Regions from separate parts of the Homo sapiens genome. Here all the other regions are linked to region 2. Evidence: promoter capture Hi-C in 16 types of primary human blood cells and fetal thymus (Javierre and others, 2016). All regions are on one chromosome and are shown on one strand. Each heading gives the region's core, a stretch centred on a gene start or on the middle of the fragment in contact. The rest is flanking DNA. Distances are from core to core; before and after follow the strand shown.

What was found. The method cuts DNA at HindIII sites, captures the fragments that hold promoters and counts their contacts. A CHiCAGO score of 5 or more calls a contact.
Region 1: a contact is called between a fragment that was not itself captured here and the fragment with the promoter of CLIP2 in region 2, in 3 of 17 cell types (M0 macrophages, M1 macrophages and megakaryocytes). The highest score is 6.9, in M0 macrophages.
Region 3: a fragment that was not itself captured here is called in contact with the fragment with the promoter of CLIP2 in region 2 in 4 of 17 cell types (total B cells, naive B cells, fetal thymus and 1 more); the score reaches 5.9 in total B cells.

The regions. Positions count from the first base shown.
Region 1 is chr7:74,371,808-74,375,263 of GRCh38, reverse strand. It overlaps CLIP2 (CAP-Gly domain containing linker protein 2), which reads right to left. Exons shown (of 17, transcript NM_003388.5): 9 at 2,228-2,332. Among named protein-coding and RNA genes, the nearest start is that of GTF2IRD1, 80 kb to the left of the region's middle. RefSeq lists an enhancer at 2,113-3,111. The HindIII fragment of the contact is 2,873 bases long and covers 469-3,341 here.
Region 2 is chr7:74,287,360-74,290,764 of GRCh38, reverse strand. It overlaps CLIP2 (CAP-Gly domain containing linker protein 2), which reads right to left and starts at 1,358. Exons shown (of 17, transcript NM_003388.5): 1 at 1,031-1,358. LOC107986742 (a long non-coding RNA gene) reads left to right here and starts at 1,458. Exons shown (of 2, transcript XR_001745024.2): 1 at 1,458-1,703. RefSeq lists enhancers at 1-359, 360-1,004 and silencers at 880-949, 970-1,439. The HindIII fragment of the contact is 3,709 bases long and covers 1-3,405 here.
Region 3 is chr7:74,176,203-74,179,974 of GRCh38, reverse strand. The region is part of intron 1 of EIF4H (eukaryotic translation initiation factor 4H); the gene reads right to left. Among named protein-coding and RNA genes, the nearest start is that of EIF4H, 3.7 kb to the right of the region's middle. RefSeq lists enhancers at 1-26, 27-527. The HindIII fragment of the contact is 608 bases long and covers 1,716-2,323 here.

The sequences.
Region 1 (3,456 bases), core at 656-3,155, 84 kb before region 2:
TTTTTTTTTAAAAGAGACGGGGGTCTAGCTATGTTGCCCAGGCTGGAGTGCAGCCGTGCAATAATAGCTCACTGTACCCTCAAATTCCTGGGCTCAAGCAATCTTCCTGCCTCAGCCTCAAAAGCAGCTGGGACTCTATGGGCATGAGCCACCATGCCCAACTGAGTTAAAGTTCTTTGTATTTTTATTAAGAAATTTTTTTTTTGTTAACATTCTTTTTAAAGAACAGAGGCCACAGTGAATTTTGCATTATCCTGCCTTAGGAAGGATATCCAGCCCAAGGGGCTGGCTGGAGGCAGTGGCCAAGAAGGGTCCAGTTTAATGCTTAAAGCAGAAGAGGGTGCTCCCAGACCCATCTTTCAACAAAAAACTCTTAGAGGCTCCATTCTCCAAAAAACCACCTTGATCACGTTGATGGTCATAGATATGAAAATGATATATTTTCAAGCTTTAAATCTATTACAAGCTTTAAACATTTTGTTTCTGAAGGTATCCTTTAGTTCAATAAACTTATTGTTTTGTTTTTTGGTTTTTGTTTTTTTCGAGATGGAGTCTCACTCTCTTGCCCAGGCTGGAGTGTAGTGGCACCATCTCGGCTCACTGCAACCTCCACCTCCCCGGTTCAAATGATTCTCCTGTCTCAGCCTCCCAAGTAGCTGGGACTACAGGCGTGCACCACCCCGCTCAGTTAATTTTTGTATTTTTAATAGAGACAGGGTTTCACCATGTTGGCCAGTCTGGTCTTGAACTCCTGACCTCAGATGACCTCAGATGATTCACCAACCTTGGCCTCCCAAAGTGCTGGGATTACAGGTGTGAGCCACCACACCCAGCCCTGTTTTTGTGTTTTCATCAGGTTGAACCCTAGATCAAGATGCATTTGGAGGGCTCCGGCCGGTCCGCCGTGACTGGGTCAGTTTGTGCGTTCAGTCTTCATGCACATGAGTGTGTACCGTACAAGCACATGGTCACTGAGCAATGGCCAGTGTGTGCAAATGGACCCTGTGTGTCTCTGGACACCTGCACACATGCACACAGCCACTTGTGCACGGAGACCAACATGCAGAAACTGACCACTGCTCCTTCTACATCTACATACTGTTTATGGGGTGCTTTTCCAGTCATCACTTGCTGCCTGTTTTTGCTTGCTCTCAGAGGGACTGCTGGGGGGCCGGCTGGCTGTTCGCATGTGAGTGCCTGCACAGAGTGCTGGGTCCCAGGCGTGCATGGTAAGCCTGGAGGGGACTGTGGGGCCTGGAGCAGGGACTCAGAACCATGCCCTAGGAGTCTGGAAGCCTCACCCACAAGCAGAGCTGTTCCATGGCTCCAGGACCCATTATAACACCATTCCCTGGGGACACCTCCACTCCCTCAAAAGCCCCACCCCTTCCTCAGCCCCAGGTCCTTCAGCCCAGCCCCCTCCTGCACCCATGTTTCAGGCTCTCTGGGCCAGAGAAACCGGGAAGAGATCTGCAGTTCCTGACCTCCTTCCTCTCCCCAGCCTCCTCAGCTGGGGAGACAGGAGACATGGATCAGTGGTTTCTAGGTCTGCCTACATAGAGACAGGACATTCCCAGGAACTCCAACACTTTGTCATGGCAATGCATCGGGGAGACTGGGGGGTCTCACAGGACGTTCTCAGCTGCTGGGGCAATAAGCTGGGGAGCCAAGTCCCAAAAAACAAAGACCACCCCCACCCCCAACTCCACCCCAATAAGCAACACTGAGCCAGGGAACATAAGCACATTTCTTTTTGTTTTGTTTTTGAGGCGGAGTCTCACTCTGTCACCCAGGCTGGAGTGCAGTGGCACGATCTCAGCTCACTGCAACCTCCACCTCCCAGGTTCAAGCGATTCTCCTGCCTCAGCCTCCCAAGTAGCTGGGATCACAGGCATGAGCCACCACGCCCAGCTAATTTTTATATTTTTAGTAGAGATGGGGTTTCACCATGTTGGCCAGGCTGGTCTCGAACTCCTGACCTCAGGCGATCCACCCTCCTTAGCCTCCCAAAGTGCTGGGATTACAGGCGTGAGCCACCGCACCCGGCCACATAAGCACATTTCTAAATCTTGACTTCCCTCCTCCAAGGGGATGCAAAAATAAAAAATAAAAATAAAAAAGATGATAGCAGCTAAAGAAAGAGAGTCAATAATGAAACAGAGAAGCCAGAGGGGGCATCAAAGGGCAAGGTGGCTGGCGGGCCAGGCGGGTGCGGTGGCGCGGTTACCCTGTTGTCCGCTAATTCTCGGAGCAGCCGCTCGGCCTGCGCCTTCTCCAGTAGCAGGCTCTGTTCCAGCTCCCCAATGCGCGCGTGCTCCAGCTGCGTCTGGGTCTGGTCCACCCAGGGTGGACACGGTGGGGGGGTGGGGGCGGGGACGCAGGGAGGGGGGCACAGGGAAGAAGAAGCCGGAGAGAGAGAGAAAGAGAGAGAGAGAGAGAGGAGGCGTCATCTTCCGTGAACAAGGCGAGGAGAGTAGATTCATGAGCCAGAATTGCTCAGCGAAAGAGAGGAAGTCTGGGGAGGCGAGGGGTGTGGGGCCTCATGCCCACCCCTTGCTGTGTCCCGGCTGGGTCAGTGTAGGGCGGTGGGGGGTGGGGGCCTGCAAGCCATCCTCCCTCGCTGGCCCCTGCTTGGGGTAGCAATGGGCACCTCGCTTTTCTGTCCCCCCCAACCCCCAACCAGCAGCCCTTGACCTTGAAGGTCCTCATCAAGGATCTGCTCCTGGGGAGGGGCCCATCCTGTTCCCGTTCCCCTGCAGGCTGTCACTGGTTGTAGGCAAAGCATCCTCCACACAGGAGACCCACAGGATGAGGAATAAATAAAGGACCCCGGGATTCCCGCTCGACTCCCCCCCCCCCCCAAGGCCTGTGCTAAAAGTGCAAGAACCCATAACACGCAAGATGTTTCCAAAATATACCCGACCCCTCACGATCCTCTTGGCCCCAGCCTCCTTGGTGGAGGCCGGGCTGTGCCTCCCACTCCCGGGCCCCATTGCTGCCCACCCCACCGGACCCCACAGAGGACGCCTGGTCTCCACAAATCACAAGGGCACTTTTGTCCCAGCTCGACAATATCTGCTTCATCTGCTGACAAAGGCCAGCATTCTCAGGGTGTCAAGACTGGCTTTTGCATTTCACAGAACAGATCTTGGAAGGGAAGCTGGGAGGGTGAGGACATTGGGAGCAGTTTGGAGACCCAAGTTCATCTTAGGGAGAAGCCAGAGGGTCCTCTTTATACTCCAGGAGAGAAGGGGTTAAAGCAGCTGCAGGGCAGTTCTGAAGGGGCGGGGCTTAGCAAAACAGCCTCTAGGTGTGAAACCTGTAATAAAACCCCGGAAGCTTGTCTATTGGTGAAGGTGTAAACGGACATCACCTGATTAGAAATACTCCTGCAATTCATTAAGAGACATTGAGATGATTATGTCCTTTGGCCTATTTTATTTCTTGAATTTTCCT
Region 2 (3,405 bases), core at 109-2,608:
AAGAGGCTTCTGAAGCACACACGTGGTGCTCCCCGCACCCTCCTCCTCCTCTGCCCACAGCCCTAGGCCACCCCACCCACCTCCCTCAGGCATCGCGCAAGAGTGACGGCAGACCCCCTCATCCCAGACCCCCACTTCTCACCCAGAAGTGAGAGGAGGGGTCTCAGACGTTGGGGGACACACTGCTGGGTGGGTGATTTCCCCCCAAGGTGCTCCCTCTGCCCGTCCTTCCCAGGGTGGGGCTGGGGCCTGCGTGGCAGTGCCCAGTGGGCACCCGCTCGGCCCAAGCTCTGCCTGAAAGGTCCAAACGGGCGGGCCCTGAAGGTTCAGCCAAGCATCCTCCGCGGCCGCCGCCCCTCCCCGGGAGGAGGGCAGAAAATCTGCTGCCTCACCAGCCACCAGCGCCAGCTTGGGGGGACACCCCCTGAGAGAAGCCGCCCGCCTCAATCTCCTCCTACCCCACCTCAGCCAAGCACTTCAACCAAGTTTTGCAAAGGCCATCGGCCAGGCGACCCCAGAGGGTGTAGCAGGGAGGAGAGGGGGGCAGTCCCTGTTCTCCCAGACCCCAGGTTTGGAGATGGGGGCTGCATGGCCGCGCCCACCAGGCTGTGCTCCCCAGGCTCTGTGAGCCCAGAGAGCCCTGCGGCGCGTCCAGCCGTCTTGCTCTGCCCTTGGAAGGGGGTACGGGCGACCCTCCAACAGAAGGGCCAAACCCCCGTCCGAGGGTAGGGACCCCGATGAGGCTGGTGATGCCTTCAACAGGGGGACCCGCAGCCCGGGAATAGCCCCCAACCCTGGCACCCCAAGCAGTGCCCCCTCCTCTCCTACAAGCAACGGGGAAGTTGGGGCACACCCCAGCCAGCTCCCGCCCACGCCCACCGGCCGGCCTCGAACCCTCCCGCCCCCGCCCACGCCCCGACAATGCCTCCGGGCCCGCAGCCCCGCTTTCGGCCAGGCCGCCGCCCCCCGCATCTCTCCGTCCTTTGTTGCCCGCGCGACCCCCTCCCTCGGCCCCTCCAGCAGCCCCTACCTTCGTCCTTCCAGCATCAGGCTAAGCGGCGGGAGGCCCGGAGAGCCCCGGCCTCCTCCTCTCGGGCCCGGGCGCGCTGGGGGGCGAGGATGCTGCGGCCCCTCCCTGCGCGGCGCTGCCCACCGGCTGCACCCCCTCCTGGCGCCGGGGATCCCCGCGATAGGTGCTCAGGGCCCGGGCCTCGCGCCACGTCTCTGGGAAGGCGGGAGGCGCGCACCGAGGCCGCCCAGCAGCCGCCTGCGCGCCCCGCGGCCGAGCCGAGCTGAGCGCCCGCGGAGCCAGCGGAGCCAGCGGAGCCAGCGGCCCGGCTCCGGGAGGGAACAAAAGGGGCCGGCGCAGGGGCGGGCGCGGGAGGGCGGGGCCTGGGGCGGGCGGGAGGGGGGGGCGGGTCAGGCGCGCGTGGGCGGCCTCGCGGTTTTCAGGCCTCAGTGCCTCGCGGAAAGCAGGCGGGCGGGCGGAAAACGCGGAGCAACCTCTTCCCCCTCTCCCCGCTCCATCTCCTTCCCTTCCCAGGCCGCAGCTGTCCTTTGTGGGGCGTCCAGGGTTCGCCCACATCCACCTCCGCGCTGGGCACCTGGTGGTGCTTACATCGCGTTTGGTGAAACGCATCCTCCAGCCATGCTATGCTTGCAAAGATGTCTCTGGTCATTGGGAAGGACGGCAGCTTGGGAAGGTGAGATGCTGTTGGCGCTGGACAGAAAGGATGAGGAGGGGGACAGTGCAGCTGGGGCGAAAACTTCAGGTCTGTGTTGGGGCCAGCGTGGGTGGGGAACTGTGGCACAGGGTCTCATGGTTATCAAGGATCTCATAGCCTGGGCAGTGTCTCACGCCTGTAATCCCAGCACTTCAGGAAGCCAAGGCGTGCAGATCGCCTGAGGCCAAGAGTCCGAGAACAACCTGGGCAACGTAACCTTCGTCTCTACAAAAAATACAAAAATTAGCTGGGCGCGCGCCTGCGGTCCCAGCTACTGGGGAGGCTGGGGTGGGAGGATCGCTGGAGCCCAGGAGGTCGAGGCTGCAGTGAGTCATGATCAAGCCACGGCCCTTCAGCCTGGGTGACAGAGCGAGACTCCGTCCCAAAAGAAAAAAAAAAAAGGATCTCATGGTGATCAGCTTCCAAGATACAAATGAACCCTCCCCAGGACAGGATGCATGTACTGCTATTTCAGAGGAGTTGAGGCAGCTGCCAGGTCCCCTCCTGCGTGGAGAGGCAGATGCCAAGTGACAGCTCAGGAACTAAACAGTGACCAAGCCCCAGCCCCTGTCCATGCCCAGGCTGCGGTTGGCTTCTGTGGCTTGGTTTCCCTCTGTCCCCCCTTGATAAGCTCGCCTGGATGCCTTTGACCTAGCTGGCCGTTCTACCAGTCCTGCCCTGCCCCCTTTCTCTGTTTGACAAATCATATTCCCCCTTCAAAGCACAGCTTAAATGTCCCTGCTTTTCCCTTGAGTGCAGGAATGTGGGTGTTGGGGGAGGTTGTGGTCTGTATGGTGAGACCACTGTTCTGCGGGAGAGAAGTGCCACATACGATCTTGTTCCTATCCCCTAAGGGACCCAGTGCAATGCTTGGCAGAGGGTAGACATCCAGTAATATTTGTTGAATGAATGAATGAACTTACTAAGTTAACATTACCACCCCTCAACTGTCTTGGTATCCATAATCTTTGAGAAGTGAGTGAACCTTTTTTTAGAGAAGGGGTCTCACTCTGTCACCCAGGCTGGAGTGCAGTGGTGTGATTACAGCTCACTGCAGCCTCAAACTCCCAGGCTCAAATGATCCTCCTGCCTCAGCCTCCAGAGTAGCTGGGACTACGGGCATGCACCATGCCCGGCTAATTTTTTGTGTTTTTTATAGAGATGGGGTCTCATTATGTTGGGGTCCAGGCTGGTCTTAAACTCTTGGCTTCAGATGATCTTCCCACCTCAGCCTCCCAAAGTGCTGGGATTACAGCTGTGAGCCACCGTGCCTGGCCTAAACATTTTGACCTCAGTTTCCCCATCTGTAAATTGGGGAGAGTGTTTCAATTCAGTTCAGCGAACATGCAATGCTGTAATGATGGAGGCTGGGCATGGGGTCAGCCCTGAGGGGGTGCCCAGTTGGTGTGGAGAGCCAGACTTGGAGACTAATAAGGGAGGAGGTTCAGAGTGAACTCCAGAAAGACTGGGCTTCTGTAGGAGGTGTGAACCCATAGGGAGGGAGGGGACTCAGGGTGGAGAGGGCAGTGTTCAGGAAACAGGGAGCTAATTGTTCCTTGTGGCTGGGATGCATAACCTGTATATCAACAGTTATAAACCAGCCAGGCACAGTGGCTCACACCTGTAATCCCAGCACTTTAGGAGGTGGTGGCGGGCAGATAACCTGAGGTCAGGAGTGCGA
Region 3 (3,772 bases), core at 770-3,269, 110 kb after region 2:
CAAAGTGTTGGGATTACAGACATGAGCCACAGCACCTGGCCAAAATAACAGTATTTGTTGCCAATGGTAAAATTTAAGCTTTCAAGCAAAAAAGAGTTTCGGAAAACCTGTATCCATCAACATAAGCCTGACAGTCTTTCAATACTCAGAGACTTTTCTAACAGCTATGGTGAATGTGACTTTGATACTGTATAACAAAATGTACCAACATCTGGAACATCTGCATGGCTCTGCCTGGCTCAGTGAACAGGTCCTTTCCAAATCACCAACACCTTACAAATGTATGCACTGGTAAAGGATCCAGTCGGAGTACAAGATAAAGTGACTTTTTTTTTTTTTTTTTGATACAGAGTCTCACCCTGTCGCCCAGGCGGGAGTGCAGTGGCGCAATCTGGGCTCACTGCAAACTCCACCTCCCAGGTTCAAGTGATTCTATGGCTTCAGCCTCCCAAGTAGCTGGGACTACAGGGGCCCACCACCATGCCCAGCTAGTTTTTGTGTTTTTAGTAGAGATGGGGCTTTGCCATGTTAGCCAGGCTGGTCTCAGACTACTGACCTCAGGTAATCCGCCCGCCTTGGCCTCCCAAAGTCCTGGGGTTACAGGAGTGAGCCACCGCGCCCAGCCAAATGATGAACTCTAATGTAAAAGTATGAAGAGTTTATTGATAAGGTTTTAGGTTTCACATTGCAACTAACCTTCATAGAAACTACTGCTTATTGAGTTTTGGTATAGAATCAAATATGAATATCCAGAATTATTTGATTACTCCTCCCATTTCCAACTATTTATCTGTGCAAGGATTGAGCTGCTCCATAAAAGTCAACCAAAGCAACACATTCCAAGAGTGGAGACAGATGCAGGTATGAGAATCCAGCTGTGTTCTATTAAGCCAGACATTTAGAAGGCTCCAAAAATGTGAGTACACAGAAGGCTCCAAAAATGTGAGTATACATGAAAGACAGGAGAAGAATGTGCAGAACAAAGGGAGGTGACGGCCCCCCTAGCCCTGAACTGGAAGGCCATGCTTAACCAGAGACTCATCAACCGTGGAGCAGCCACATACTTGAGCTCCTTCAGAAGGTCCTGATCAAGACGGAAAATCACATAAATCATGACGTGGGGAAACTTCGAAGAACATTCGACTTACACAAAAGAAGTCTTAGACGTACATACAGCTGCCATTAGGTTCTATGAAAATGATGCAATCACACTCATTTCATGCCCGGGTGTGCAGGTCTAATCAGCATGATGTAAAAGCAACCAGGCGACAAATACTCTCCTGAACCTTCCAGGGGAAGCTGGAAGCCAGAGTGTGATCCTGGAAAGACATTCAGAGTCTGCTTTGTACGTTCTAAGCTTCCAGGGAGACTCCTTAAAATTGTGAAGTCTTTCCAGAACACTAAGCTTAATTTTTCTTTTTTTTTTTTTGGAGACAGTCTCTCTCTGTCGCCCAGGCTGGAGGAGTGCAGTGGCATGATCTCAGCTCAATGCAACCTCCGCCTCCCTGGTTCAAGCAATTCTCCTGCCTCAGCCTCCCAAGTAGCTAGGATTACAGGTATGTGCCGCCACACCCGTTTTGTATTTTTAGTAGACATGGGGTTTTGCCACGTTGGTCAGGGTGGTCTCAAACTTCTGGCCACAAGTGATCCGCCTGCTTCGGCCTTCCAAAGTGCTGGGATAACAGGCATGAACCACTGCACCCAGCCACAAAGCTTAATTTCTAATAGAAACATAAATTGAAGGCTGGGTACTGTGGCTCACACAATGAGCCTTGGGAGGCTGAGGCAGGAAGATCCCTTGAGCCCAGGGGTTTGAGACTAGCCTGGGCAACATAGAGACACTCTGTCTCTACAAAAAAATACAAAAATTAGCTGGGCATGGTGGCGCACCCTGTAATCCCAGCTACTTGGGAGGCTGAGGTGGGAGGATGGCTTGAGCCTGGGAAGTCGAGGCTGCACTGAGCTATGATCCTGCCACTGCACTCCAGCCTGGGTGACAGAAGGAGAGCCTATTTCATAAATAAATACATGTTTCTAACTCATATGTGGGGAAAACGAGGCTCAGAGAGGTGAAGAAACTTACTTCAGATCACACAACTAACACATGGCTGAACTGATGAAACTCTGGTCTGCCTTATTCCAAAGCCAGGGCTTTTACATGAACCGTCATGCAGAGACCTCTTAGCAAATCCAAATATTTCTGGTAACACTTTTCATAGAGGATAATGGTTTGGAACTAAGCAATGGAACACTTGGAGTGAAGAAGGATAACAAACCTAAACGACTTGACATTTGACATGTAAACAGCATTTTAAAATAAGCTTTTCAATAGCTTTACAGGCCCTAGCATCAGTGAAAACTAGCTGTAGTTTTTATACACTGCTTTCCTTCCTATTACATACAAATCTTAAAATATGCTCAGAGACAGGAAGTAGAATGGTGGTTGCCAGGGACCTGGGGGAAGGAGGGCAATAGGGAATTACTATTCAAAGGGGACAGGGTTTTAGTTTTACAAGCTGTAAGAGTTAAGGAGCTGGATAGTGGTGATGGTTATACATTACGAATACACTCAATATCCCTGAAATGTATACTGAAAAATGGGTAAAGTGGCACATTTTATGTTATGTATATTTTACCACCATAAAAATTTTGGATAAAAATATGCTCAGAAATTTAGACAGACATGCTAAGTTTAAAGATTCAAAGGTTAGAATTCTAAACTCCTAGGCTGGGCGTGGTAGCTCATGCCTGTAATCCCAACACTTTGGGAGGCTGAGGCGGGAGGATCACTTGAGTCCAAGAGTTCAAGACCAGCCTGGGCAACATAGTGAAACCCATCTCTATTTAAAAAAGAATTCTAAACTCCCTAACTGAATCCTGATAAAGAATAAATTTGGAGTTTTGCCAGTTTTTAGATGGCACCATTTCAGCCACCTCAATTCTTGCCACCTCCAATTTCCACCCTAATTCTCAGGATCGGTGGTTTTCCACTAAGCACTCATAGCTTTGTTGCAATTAGAAATATAAAATCAGTATTACTCTGCACTTTACTGCCAATGGTAGATGAGAAACTGGAACCTCAAAAAGATAATTTAGCAAACTGCAAAACAAAGTCCATTCAAGATCTGGTACAATCAACTCTTGATCATTTGGAATTTTGTTTTGATTTGCTTGCTGAACAATGCAGTCCCTGGTTCTCTCCCTGGCTGCTGGGGACATGCCCTTACAGGCTCGGGGGAAAAAAGCAGTGGTTCAATACTGTTTCCTGACAACTGCACTGGTTATTAAACACAACTACGAAATAAACTTAGGAAGATGTATAACTACCAAACTATGTTTTATGATGATAACTGTTCATTTTAGGCCTACCATTTCTTTCACCTGTGACCCAAGTAATTCAGAGGTGAGATGTACGAGCCTGTCTGAGGCATTTTAGACAAGGGAGAAGGTGCCTACACAAGTACCAAACAATGCAGTGTTAAAACTGCTTTCCATAGGTGGCAATCTTCTATGATGCTTAAGCATTGTAAAGCAGTGACATTTGTTCATGTGGACATAATTAAAATAATTGAGGCCGGGCGCGGTGGCTAATGCCTGTAATCCCAGCACTTTGGGAGGCTGAGGCAGGAGAATCGCTTAAACCCGGGAGGTGGAGGTTGCAGTGAGCCGAGATCACACCATTGCACTCCAGCTTGGGCAACAAGAGTGAAACTCCATCTCAAAAAAAAAAAAAAAGAATACACATGTATAAATGAATATGTAAATTCACCAA